Regions from separate parts of the Homo sapiens genome. Here all the other regions are linked to region 1. The links are contacts of gene promoters, found by promoter capture Hi-C in human tissues and cell types (Jung and others, 2019). All regions are on one chromosome and are shown on one strand. The core of a region is centred on a gene start or on the middle of the fragment in contact, and the rest is flanking DNA. Distances in the headings are between cores, read along the strand shown. Region 1 holds the start of A3GALT2 (alpha 1,3-galactosyltransferase 2). Region 2 overlaps ZSCAN20 (zinc finger and SCAN domain containing 20). Region 3 has its middle 9.0 kb from the start of TRIM62. Region 4 overlaps TRIM62 (tripartite motif containing 62).

Region 1 (3,221 bases), core at 127-2,626:
CTTGAAAGTAACTTTCAAGAACCAACACTCACATCTTAATAACTCCTCTTTGGAAAGCCTATTAAAATGGAACTGTCTTGGAGGAGAAACACACTGATTAGTTGATCCCCAGGGGGTAGAACTAGGGACTGGAAAGCCTGTCCCAGGAGGCAGGGAATGGCTGGCAGGACCCTGAGCTGACGGGAGGAGGAGGATGCTGAGATTGGGGAGTGAGCCCTGGGGAGCCCCCAGGCAAGAACGAACGCCCCATGTGCTGCCGCCTCTCCTGCTGCTGGAGTGCAGGCCACGTGCGCAGGTGCACCACTGGCCTATAGGACTCTGGGCAGTTCTTTTCACTTTCTGGACCTTAATTTTCCCTTTATGGAAGAAAATGAAAACCAGGCCCCACCTGAGTTTGTTGTGTGTAGCAAAGAGGGAGGGAACCAAACCTACTCCTAAAAGAAGATGTGGTGAATTTGATTCACACCAATAAGTATCCATCTTCTTTAGATGAAAAGCTCCAACCTGCTGCAAGTTTGCAGGGTGCACCTGCAATAGGCATTTGCTATTCCTGTTGTTTACACTTCACACTGAATTTCACAGACCTATTTCCATCATGATCCACAATTTAAAGAAATATTTCCCAAACTTGTATACACATTTCAATATCTATCAACTGAAACAAACATTTCATGAAACAAAACCTACCCTTACGTACAATATAGAATATTTTCCATTGTATTCCTGTTCGTATTTTAAAAATCTTGGTCACGACCCACTAAACTCATTACACGGCCTTCAGATAGGTCACAACTGGAACTTTAAAAAGCACTGCCCAGAGTAAATCACAACGGTTCAACATCCACGAATTTACATGGTTCTCTCTCCTGGGTGACTGGTGTATGTACTGGTGTACATTCTACTGAGAAGGTAAAGGGCTCCACTAGGTGAACTGTCCAAGGTCACAGGTGCCGAGTGCCCTTCAGATCTGGCTGAGGCTCTGTGCAGAACGGCTTTTCCTGCGTGGCAAACACCATACCTTGATTGCCAGCTGTTCCCAAGAACCAAAGACACTTCCCCTGGGGAGGGAAGAGGAGTCTGTACAAAATGACAGAGCCTCCAGCCAACCAGAACTGGCCTACTCAGACCCACCCTCTTCCAGGTGATTGGCCCCAAAAGGGTTGCCAGCCCCACTCCACCTTGGGGCCAGCTTCCCCCAAAAGGTTGCATCCCCGGCAGGTCCCTCGCAGGCAGTCCATCCTGACTGCTCCTGTGGGTGCAGCTCCTCAGGTAAAGGGGGAGGAGCTGCTTGTTCCAGATCTCCAGGAGCAGGCCATTTCTTCCCCAGCTCTAAGCTGGGAAAGTTTGCTCCAGGCCATCCTACCTGCTTCCCCATATGGCTCTCAAGGAGGGACTCAGGTGAGGGGGGACAATGGTATGGAGAGGAAGAAAGCTTGGGGACAGCTGAGCTAAGAGGGATCCAGTCTGATGGCTAAAACAGTACCAAGGGGAGGCACCAGAGTGAGCCCAGGAGTACCAGCTGAGCCTCCAGTCCTGGGGAAAGGTGGCTCCGAGAGGGGACATTGCCCCAGGAGAAGAAAGACAATCCGTGTGCATGGACACCGGGGTGGGGGAGGTTGTATTCCACAAGATTTTGTAGCCAATGAAAAGCTGGACTCCCCTTGCTTCCCTTAACTCTAAACCCCCTTGGCGAGCCGGAAAGCAGAGACCCGGGGGTACATTCCCTCCCCGACTGTAACTGAGAGCTCCCTCTATCCCCACTGGGACTGATGGTCCAGGACTAGGAACCTGTGCCCCCTTAAGACCTAATGGCTGATCTTTAACCCTTTCTTGAAGCCAACGAGAGTGGGGAGCAGGGCACAGGGTGGAGCTTGAGGGACCACCTTCTGCAGGTAGAACCTGAACAAGAAATGTGGAGGAGTGGACTGATCAGGGGCCTCCACAGACCACGGGCTCCCAGGCTGGGGCATAGGAGGGGCAGGAGGAGCTGGTGGGTCCCACCCAGTCCTGGGTCTCAGCACCCTCCCAGGCCTGACCACAGGAGTTCACAAGACCAACTCTGCCTGTGTGCCCTGGCTGAGGCCCAGAGCCCAGAATAAGCATCGGTTTGCCCTACCCTGGTTGGGAGGAGGCTGGTGAAGAGGGTGGGACAGCCACAGAGGGGGAGAAAGCCCCTCCAGCCTTTTCCTGCTCCTGTAGTACCTTACGCAGTACCTCGCACACCTCCCACAGTGCACCTCCCGAGGCAGCCTTGCCAGCTCCCAGTACGGGGTTTGACCAGGCTTCTAGGAACCAGAGAAGCCCAGCTGCAGCCAGCCCTCCAGGAGCTCAGACAGGAGCTGAATAGAGTGCGAAGGGAAGAAGCCAAGCCCACGGGGAGAAATAACAGGGCCGAGAACCTTGTGAGATGAGCCTCAGGGCTGAGCTAGGCCCAGGTCAAATGGAACCCAAATGCCATGCTGGAAGCTCTGGCTGGGGGATCGGGCAGTCCTACTCAAAGCCCAACCCCACCCATTACCCGCCGTGCAAATGCCTTGGTGTAAAGTGTAAACAGGAATGGCAAATGCCTACTGAAGGTGCACCCTGAAAACCTGCAGTAGGTTGGGGCTTTTCACCTAAAGAACACGGATACTTATTGGAGGAGAAACAAGCTGATTAGTTGATCCCCAGGGGGTAGAACTAGGGACTGGAAAGCCTGGTGCCCCAGGAGGCAGGGAATGACTGGCAGGACCCTGAGCTGACAGGGGAGGAGAGGATGCTGAGATTGGGGAGTGAGCCGTGGGGAGCCCCCAGGCAAGAACGAACGCCCCATGTGCTGCCTCCTCTCCTGCTGCTGGAGTGCAGGCCACGTGCGCAGGTGCACCACTGGCCTATAGGACTCTGGGCAGTTCTTTTCACTTTCTGGACCTTAATTTTCCCTTTATGGAAGAAAATGAAAACCAGGCCCCACCTGAGTTTGTTATATGTGTAGCAAAGAGGGAGGGAACCAAACCTACTCCTAAAAGAAGATGTGGTGCATCTGATTCACACCAATGAGGCCGCCCAGCCTTGCAGAGGTGAGCTGTCACTGAGATCTGCTCCAAGCCTCCATGCATCCTCTCTCACACAGTGACCCTGGCCCAGCCCCCTTGCTGAGCGCTGCCCTGAGGTATTGTGTGTCCCCTGGACAGCAGTATTCACCTGAGTGTCCCAACTCAGTGCTTCTCAAGCTGCAGTTTGCA
Region 2 (3,364 bases), core at 157-2,656, 160 kb before region 1:
TCTCTGATGGCACCCATGCTGGGTTATTTGAAAAAATGAGCTCTCTGTGTCATCCCAACAAGTCTGGGTGACATAAAAAATGCCCACTCAAAGGAGATCATTAGCTGCTTCCAAGTGGGAATGACACAACTGAATTGAGAATGGAGAGATGGTGGTATTTTTCATTTTGGGCAATCTGACTGGACTGAAGAGAAACAAGACAAGGGTAATAAAAATTAAAGTCTTGCCCTAAAGGCCTCCATATGCTTAGGAAGAGGCTTAAAGCACAACTCATGGCTACCTGGCAGCTTCCTACTCATCCTTCAACCACCAGCTCAAATGTCACCTCCTTTGATAGGAGTTCCTTGACATGCCCTTTTCATGTCCTGCCCTCCAAGAATTGCCTCCCTGATCCTATATCACCAAAGCAATTGGTACATACCTCTAATATAGGTATTATCCTACACTATTGTAGTTACCTGTTACTATATCTGACACCCACATTATACTATATTACTAGAATCAGTATTGTATGTTACTAATTTCTGTATCCACAGTGCTCAACCCAGTATCTGATAAATAGCAGGGCCATTAAAAAGTTTTATTACCATGTATTAAAATGATAAACCTGGCGTATCAAAAGCCTAATGGGATACAGATATTCCATAATTTATATTAAACTAAACTATTTCTGTCTACCTACATTACTGCTATAAGCACTCAGAGAGATCACATATGTAGAAAGATTTTGCCTTTCATGAAATTTCTTTTTGAACCTAAAGAATTCGCCTTTCATGAAATTTCTTTTTGAACCACAACCTTATTGATGCATGAGTTCAAACACATTTCTGTCACCCTCTCACACAAGGAGCAATTCATCAATCATTTATAGAGTACCAGCTATACCCTGTTTGGAAGCTACAGATCTACCAGTAGCTGGGACTGACAGTCCCTACCTTCAATAAAATTACAGTCTAGTGAGACAGACAGTCAATAAGCAAGCAAAGACATTTGCGTTCCTGCACAAACAGGACACTACAACAAAATAGGCAATTAGCAGTCACACCAGGCCCAAAGCTCAGAGTCTCAGATAATAGGTATTTTCTCCTGGAAAGACTTGAAAGTCCCAAAGGTTTGTTTCAAATAGAAATCGGAAAGCCCCAGGGACCACATATCACCATAACCTTTTTTTTCTAAGGAACCATAACCGTAACTTTCTAAGGAAGTTAGACCGAAGTATGGATAGCAGGCTATTGTGGGGAGAGGGAGGCCAACAGAGTCGGCCAACAGCCGGGTGACTTCACACAGAAGTGAACAAGGGAAAATGGACCGGGGCATTCCTCAGTTCCGAGATGACCAGGAATATCGAGCCTCATTAGGACCAGCAATTTCTAAGAGTACCCCTTTACTGAGTGCCCACAAGGTGCCAGGCACAGTGCTGTGTTCCACATTCATAATCTCACTGAAGCCTCCAGGCAGCAACTGGAGTCTCATTAGGTGTTGAGCTGCATTTCACTGATCTGTAACTTCCACTGCAAAGATCAGAAAGAGAGAAAGAGGGCCGGGCGCGGTGGCTCACGCCTGTAATCCCAGCACTTTGGGAGGCCGAGGCAGGGAGATCACAAGGTCAGGAGTTCGAGACCAGCCTGGCCAACATGGTGAAACCCTGTCTCTACTAAAAATACAAAAAAAAAAAAAAAATAGCCAAGCGTGGTGGCTCGTACCTGTAATCCCAGCTACTCGGGAGGCTGAGGCAGGAGAATTGCTTAAACCCAGGAGGCGGAGGTTGCAGTGAGCTGAGATCGTGCCACTGCACTCCAGCCTGGGCAACAGAGCACGACTCTGTCTCAGAAAAAGAAGAAAAAAAAAAGAAAGAGAGAAAGAGCATGATTTAAATAGTGCAGCCAGTTGCGTTCACTATCTGTTCGAGAATAAGCATGTGGTGGTGGCACCTAGGACTTCGCTATTCACCAGGTTGGTCTTGATTCCCTCGTGCCTCTCTTTCCACTAAGTGTGAGTAAAGTGTCTTTCATACCGCACAGTCCCTAATACAAGCGAATTCTCATCTAATGTTCAAACAAGAAAGCCCAGCTGTGCTGATTAGTTTATTTATTGAAAGGCAGCGTGTTAGTTTCTGAAACGGCTCCTTGCCAAAGGATTTTCAAACTAACTGTGATTTTTGGCTAAAGTGATTTTCACCCTTAGAATATTATTATCTGATAAGGTATGACTGCACTATATCCTCAATTACCTAAAGGGAAACTGAGTGTTTATGAAGATTCACTTAAGGTTACACAACTAGCAAGTGGTAGAGTTAGGGTCTAAGCCGAGATCCCTTTTCTCCAATCATTTTTCTTAACCATGTCTTATAGCCTCCTCTATGTGTGCTAGTCATCCAAACTCTTAAGATGACAGTACGGGAGAATGGAAAGAACATTAAGGCAGGAGTGAGCAGACTGGGGTTCTAGTTCCACTCCTGCCACTAATCAGCTGTGTTACTTTGGACAAGTTATGTAGCCCCTGTGGCTGCCTAGCTAGGCTGCAGCTTACAGCCTGATCTTACTCAGCAGTTGCCCTAGGTTCCCCAATTAGTATGATGGGGTAGAGCAAGGGAGAAGGGAGACTAGAGTCAGTGGCTACAAGTTTAAATGGGTATAAGGACCTAGCAATGTAAATGAGTCAATGACTGAAATGAACTGGGTGGGCACTACAGCCAACTATAGAGTGCCAGGGGAACATATGCCCAGAATATTCCTAAGCCTGCTGATTTTTCCAAAAGAAACTAGCACTCTGGATTTTTAAATGTTGGTAACCAACTCAAAATTTTTTCACACACTATGAGATTAAATAAAGCATGATGGTGGACTTCATTCAGCATGGGCTGTCGCTTTGCCACTTAGATTCAGCTAAGTGATCTCAAAGCTCTCTTCCAATATCCAGAAAGACCTAGAAAGAGTACAGAGCCTCCCAGGTCATGAGGGATAAGTGCTGACTGCCATCAAAATCAAGATGTCTTTACAAACACAGGGAAGCTGAGGGGCATCTTGACTCCTAGGGCAGTAAGTATGAACGTGGTCATGAGGAGCCCACTCAGTGAAAAGGGAAGAGAAGATGCTCTCCAGTTCCACAGGAAAGGCCAAGACTGGTCTGTGACCTCCAAAGAGAAAAAACTGGGAACTCTTAAAGGCTGTCAGGCCCATTTGGCTGACAGTCCAAGCTATGGCTTAAAGCAGTCTGACCTGACCTCACACATAAGGGCTTAAGCCAGGGAGAGCAAATAGGTTTCATTTAAAGCAGAAACTTCAATCAACTGGAAGTGGCTGCCTAGAGTAGTGTGCTGAGGGCTCTGAGTACAGTGTGAATATGTGCTGAGAACCAACCAATT
Region 3 (3,079 bases), core at 380-2,879, 130 kb after region 1:
TAATAAACCACTGTGGTAGCACTCTTATTGTCTGCCTTCCTTTTCTTTATCAATTCCCACTTCTCTACCCAAATAGTCACTTTCCAAATAAGCTAATTTAACTCAAATCTTTGTGTGGCGGTCTGTATCTGGTCTTCTAAGCTCAGATCAGAAGTGGTCTTAGATCCCAAGGATGGAATCTAGGATTGTAAAATTTGTCGGCCAATGGTAATAAGATTCCATTATTGATGGTCTTTAATATATTGTAGAGGCCTAGGATGAATTGGGGGACAAGATACAGATACAAGGGGATACAACCATTTATGAAGTCTCTCTAACATCTGAGAGATGTGGAGGCAATGGTAGTTAAAGAACTGGTGGAGTTTGTTGGTTGTTGTTAAGTACCATTGAAGTGCTAAAGGAGGAAAATGATAGGGTCAAATTAGTCAATTACCAGCCCAGGGGATGGTATGAAACCTAGAAAGCCACTATGACAGCATTTTAAAATCCCCTAATTTCCTACAGCTGGAGGGCAGATAGGTCTGAAAACCACATCCAGAACCTAATGATGAAAGTAGTAGAAGTGTCCCACTCCCGTTTGCTAGAGGATAATAGGCTTCCTCCTCTTGCCTGGAAACTATGCAGAGGCCTCCCCTAAGGCAGATGCCTTGCAAGATGATACTTGCCCTCTTCAAGATCTGCTTCTACATTCTCTTGCGTCTTCTAGGTCAATCACTAGGGTTAAATCTCATCACTCAACCATTGAGGAGGTACTATCTCTGCTTAAAGAAACAGGATTTTGGCCAGGCTTATGCCTGTAATCCCAGCACTTTGGGAGGTTGAGGCAGGTGAATCACCTGAGGTCAGGAGTTCAGGACCAGCCTGGCCAATATGGTGAAACCCCATCTCTTCTAAAAATACAAAAATTAGCCAGGTGTGGTGGTGCACACCTGTAGTCCCAGCTACTTGGGAGGCTGAGACAGGAGAATCACTTGAACCTGGGAGGCAGTGGTTGCAGTGAACCAAGATCGTGCCATTGCCTGCCTGGGGGACACAGCGAGACTCCATCTCAAAAAACAAAAACAAAAACAAAAACAAAAACAAAAAAAAGGATGTTTACTAAAAGAACTGCAGGACCTGCCTAATAGATACCAATAAAAAGCTGGAAGATGTGCCTGCTTTGGGAAGGGAAGGAACATAGGAAGAAGGGAAATGGAACATAGGGATGGAGAAGAGAAGAGTTGTTGATAAGGACGAAGTCTCCTGAGCTTCTGCACTTACCATCCTGGCAAGAACACTTGGAGCTGGGATGGTTCAGAGGACAAAAGGATCAGTGTCCAATCAGGAGGTAGAAACTACACCACTAATTTAAATAGAGATCTAATGTAGTGTATTCTTAAGTAGGTATAAAATTATTAAGTAGGTAACTGCAAAGGTAAAAAGAGAATGCTAAGTTGTCACAAAGATAGCAATGACAAAAGCAGATACCATGCCCACGGCTGGTGAAACAAAATAAGAAGTGGAATTATCAAAATTTAGAAGCTTACAAGAGAAGTTCCAAGAAACCAAAACTCAGATCTCTGAGGAGGAACACCAAAGTGTTGGAAACTGGTGCTAGGAAGTGTTGGGAAACTGCAAACTGGATTCAGCTGCTGCTAAGGAAAGATGCTGCTGATGCCAGGGTGAAGAAGCGTTGCTAGGGTGATGCTCACAGGAACAGGAAGCTGACAGGAAGTCAATAGGAAGAAGCAAGTCCCTCCTTCCTGATGCTGCGACATCAATTCCCTCCTGCCCTCCTCATTGGCAGGCATAACAGGGAGCAACTGGCAATGCTGGAATGTGAATTTCTGAACCCCAGCCCCAGCACTACACAAGTTGATACAGAAGGGTGGTTGTGGCGCTAAGAGGTGACAGCTTAACTACTGACAAGAGTTACAATAAACAATGTAGAAATGTGTGAACTGACATAACTGGAGAAAGGAGTCAAAAGTTCAGAGGAGAAATGTATTGCCTAAAACCAAAAGACCACCAGCTTAGTAGCTTAGTATGTTTCCAGTACACCTTCACTGGAGCAATAAAGAATGAGCTCCTGAAGGGGCACTGACATCATTGAGCAACTCAGTGGTGGCTGCCCCTTCTATATTGTGTTGTAGCTGCTAGGGAACTGGAGTTCCTACTGTTTCTTAATGGTGACAATAGGATTCCAGAACAGCAGAGGCCAGGTAGCAGCACTTAACCATCAGACACATAGTGTATGGAATTACCATAATGGGCAGCAAAGTCAGAAACTCAACCAAGGGGCCCTTACCCACAGAGATCTGTGGGATTGCTAATAGACCCTGAAGTTCCTAAGGGCGAGATCAGTGGGTGACTAGCAAGGGTATTGCTGCCCAATATAATAAAAACAGATCAAGAGCATGTAATGTGAAGACTGAGGTGAGCCATCACAGTGGAAAATCACTATCCCTCACCCATTTTTCATGCTTAAGCTAGTCCTCAGACCCAGTACCACAGTAACTGTACACAGGAGAACAAAAATATCCAGATATTTCTATAGTTGGGGAATTCAGAGTCCGGACTGACACTGATTCCAGGGGATCCAAATTGCCACTATAGCCCTCCTGTTAAAGTAAGGAGATATGGAGGCAAGATGATAAATGGAGTCTTTGCCAAAGCCCATTTTACAGTGAGTCCAGTGGGTCTTCACACCCTCCTGTGACTATTTTCCCCATCCCTGAATACTTAATTGGGATTAGTAAACTCAGCAGGCAGTAGAAACCTCACATCGGTTTCTTAATCTGTAAAGAAACTGGTGAGGGTCACCCAAAGCAGAGGTGACAACAGTATGTGTATATATATATATGTGTATGTGTGTATGTATATATATACGTATATATGTGTATATATATATACGTATATATATACATATATATATATATATATATATATATATATATATATATGCTGGAATGTGAATTTCTGAACCCCAGCCCCAGCACTACACAAGTTGATACAGAAGTGTGGTTGCGGCGCTAAGAGGCAACAGCTTAACAACTGACAAGAGTTACAATAAACGATGTAGAATATATATATATGGGGG
Region 4 (3,100 bases), core at 368-2,867, 180 kb after region 1:
CTAGTCCTGGGGCCTAGATTCTGCACTTGGGGTCTCTGACACAACACACCATCCCAAAGTAGCCGGAAGAGCTAAACACAGGGGGTTCTTAAAATGGCTGCCCCCGCCACCCGGGCCTCCCTTGGGCAAAAGGAATTGTCAGCCCTACCCCAACCCTTCAACTACCAGAATCTGGGCCACCCCAGCAGTATTTTTATTTAAAATGTTGCCCATTTTATGAGTTATGATCAATTTGTATTAAATTAAAGTTACAGATGTCAGTAGCCAGTTCCATTCATTTTGACAAACACACAGGCCCACCCAGCTCTGTCCCAGGCAGTGCACACACATGAGCATAGCTAATCCACAAAGCAGCCCGGCTGGGTAAATGGTATTATGCTCATTTTACAGAGGAGGAAAATTGAGGTTCAGAGAGAAGCCAAGACTTACCTGGGGTCCCATATCCCATGCTGGCAAGTGCCACACCACAAACCTGTCCAAAAACTTACCAGCCAGGGAAGGCTGTCAGTCTTTACCTGGAGGAGAGGTGGTGGTAGTCTTGGGAGCAGGCAGCAGGCAGCTCATGGGGCAGTGGCAAGAGCCTGGTCTCGGGAACCACACAGACCTCAGCTCAAATCCAGGCTCCATCACTGTGTGACTTTAGAAAAATGACCACCCTCTCTGGGACTCAGTTTTCCCACATGGAAGATGAGGATACCAATTTCACATAATTTATTGGTAAGCTGTAAAGTGCAGTGCACTTAAGGAGGCCCTACCCTATCCCCCCAGCTGCCTCCCAGAGTCAGTGCCTGGAGCTGTATGGGTTTCCTGAACCTCTGGGCTGGCTCTGACCCAAGAAGTCTGTCTTTCTCCTTATGGGCTGTGACGGGTATGGAACCACCTAGACCAGGACCATCCTGAGGTCCATCCCACCTCTGACTGATGAGGAAGCATCCTGGCTGGGAGTTAGGACAGGCTCTGCATGTGGACACACAGGCTGTGCACACTTAAGTGGAAAAGACTGTCGACTAAAGAAGAAATATCAAGCTTTTAAAGAATTAAAGTTCACTTTACTTAGAAGTCTTACTGAGTACTATAGACAGGCCTAGAGCCCAGCAGCGGCCCTTTAGAGAGGTTCTATCAGTCGGGCCCAGGACAGTATTTTAGCCCACTGCTTATATACAGGTGGTGGAGGTTTAGTACACGCAAAATCACATCACACTTGCTCAGAAGTAACATTAAAGCCACCGGGCGCAGTGGCTCATGCCTGTAATCCCAACACTTTGGGAGGCCAAGGCAGGCGGATCACCTGAGGTTGGGAGTTCAAAACCGCCCTGACCAACGTGGAGAAACCCCGTCTCTACTAAAAAATACAAAATTAGCCGGGTGTGGTGGCACATGCCTGTAATCCCAGCTGCTCGGGAGGCTGAGGCAGGAGAATCTCTTGAACCCGGGAGGCGGAGGTTGCGGTGAGCTGGAGATCGCGCCATTGCACTCCAGCCTGGGCAAAGAGCGAAACTCCGTCTCAAAAAAAAAAAAAAAAAAAAGAAGTAACATTAAAGCGGAATCATATATCAACGTTTGCATGTAAGAGTGTGTCTGGGCTATAGATTACAGAGGCATAATCATGAATGCCATCAGACACTATCTTCTGTACAGGAAAAGGCAAGGACTAGGTTTATTTATCTTTTAAGGAACGTAGTGACTCAGGCAAGAGACATGGGGGCCATGCCCACTATTCTGTCTTGTCTCCAAAGTATCCCTCCACAGAGCCGCACATGGTCACAGAGTCAGAGGCTTGTGAAATTATGCTGGCAAACAGAAATGAGGGAAGTAGCTTCTTCCATTTGCTACTGTGTCTCCCAGGCCACTGGGTGCTCTCTGCAGTGTGCAAGGGAGTACAGCACCCCTGGGAGCCCAGGACTGGTGTTGGCTTTCTGTTAAGTCATTTTCACCCTAAGCCATTCTTGGCCTCCTCACCCACAGAATGAGGGAGGTTAGGCTGCAGGCCACAGGTGGATCTTCATCTACAGCCTGGAGCTGGGGAGAGGGAACCACCCCAGTCATTGACTCGCCTGGGTTTCTAGGAAGAGGAATGAGAACGAGGATGGGAGAGGGGCTGTTGGCAGGGGTGGGTGGAGAGGTCTCTGATTGTCTGATGGAGAGCAGCCCAGTTCACAGGGAAGTGACTGGGGTGATTCTGAGACTAGAGTATCCCAAGCCCTCCCCCATCCTCTCAGATCCCTGTGACTGCTCTAAAACCACGCCCTCTCATTTTGGCTCAGTGGATCTGTCTTTGCTCAGCCTTCTCCCTCTGGGGTCGGAGCACCCCCTCCATGGCGCATTCCACCTTCTCCCCACTCAGCCTCAGCAGCAGCTCCAAGAAATGCTGGCCACTTCCCAGGCTTTACTCACAGTTTCCACGTGTGTGGAAGTAACTATAGAGGCCAAATTTGCATTATCAACTGGGGACTCCTGGAAATGGGGGTGTCTCCAAGAGATATATTTGATACACGTCCAGAGAATTCCTGAAGGAAAGAATCTGGGGTTGTCAGGCTGATATCATGAACCCCACATTTAACACATTAAGTGAAGAGAGGGGACAAAGGCCAGGCTTGGGAAGGAAGGAGGGATCAACAAAGCCCTTACCCAGGACAGATAAAAATGATAGAATGGCAGTAACCCCATTTGGAGCCCCCATTTGTAGTCAGCAAGCAAAGTACTGGTCCTTTTTACACCTTATCTAACCATCGAGACACGCCCCTGTGGTTGGTATCATTATCTCAGTGTTTGAGCAGGGAAACGTCACTTCCCAGAGGACCCACAGCCAGTACTCGGCAGAGCTGGAAATCAAACCCGGTCCATCCAAAGCTAAAGCCAGATGTCTCTTTACTGGACCTCTCTGGAAATGCTTCTCAACTTTGATGATGGCTCCAGTGACAGGCAGCAGCCACCAGGACTGTGATCTCCCTGGGATTTAAAGTGGGAGGTTAAACCAGGCTCCACGCCACTGCGGAATTGTGCAATTGTAAGTCAAGTCTCAATTGTGAGCCAAGCTTCTCCCAGGGTCAGAGGTGGAGTTAGAAAGGCCCCATGTGACCCTGAGCAAGTCTCTCTCCTT

Evidence for each region. The method cuts DNA at HindIII sites, captures the fragments that hold promoters and counts their contacts. A contact is called where the count stands out against the background at its distance.
Region 2: a contact is called between a fragment that was not itself captured here and the fragment with the promoter of A3GALT2 in region 1, in 2 of the 25 tissues and cell types used here (adrenal gland and dorsolateral prefrontal cortex).
Region 3: a fragment that was not itself captured here is called in contact with the fragment with the promoter of A3GALT2 in region 1 in 1 of the 25 tissues and cell types used here (bladder).
Region 4: a fragment that was not itself captured here is called in contact with the fragment with the promoter of A3GALT2 in region 1 in 1 of the 25 tissues and cell types used here (adrenal gland).

The regions. Positions count from the first base shown.
Region 1 is chr1:33,319,253-33,322,473 of GRCh38, reverse strand. A3GALT2 (alpha 1,3-galactosyltransferase 2) reads left to right here and starts at 1,376. Exons shown (of 5, transcript NM_001080438.1): 1 at 1,376-1,398. The coding sequence starts at 1,376. The HindIII fragment of the contact is 15,797 bases long and covers 1-3,221 here.
Region 2 is chr1:33,474,142-33,477,505 of GRCh38, reverse strand. All of the region lies in intron 1 of ZSCAN20 (zinc finger and SCAN domain containing 20), which reads right to left. Among named protein-coding and RNA genes, the nearest start is that of ZSCAN20, 3.2 kb to the right of the region's middle. The HindIII fragment of the contact is 5,454 bases long and covers 1-3,364 here.
Region 3 is chr1:33,189,498-33,192,576 of GRCh38, reverse strand. It overlaps a transcript of ZNF362 not described here. Among named protein-coding and RNA genes, the nearest start is that of TRIM62, 9.0 kb to the right of the region's middle. RefSeq lists an enhancer at 228-397. The HindIII fragment of the contact is 4,880 bases long and covers 1-3,079 here.
Region 4 is chr1:33,142,562-33,145,661 of GRCh38, reverse strand. TRIM62 (tripartite motif containing 62) reads left to right here. Exons shown (of 5, transcript NM_018207.3): 5 at 1-263. It also overlaps a transcript of AZIN2 not described here and a transcript of ZNF362 not described here. Among named protein-coding and RNA genes, the nearest start is that of TRIM62, 38 kb to the left of the region's middle. The HindIII fragment of the contact is 3,913 bases long and covers 1-3,100 here.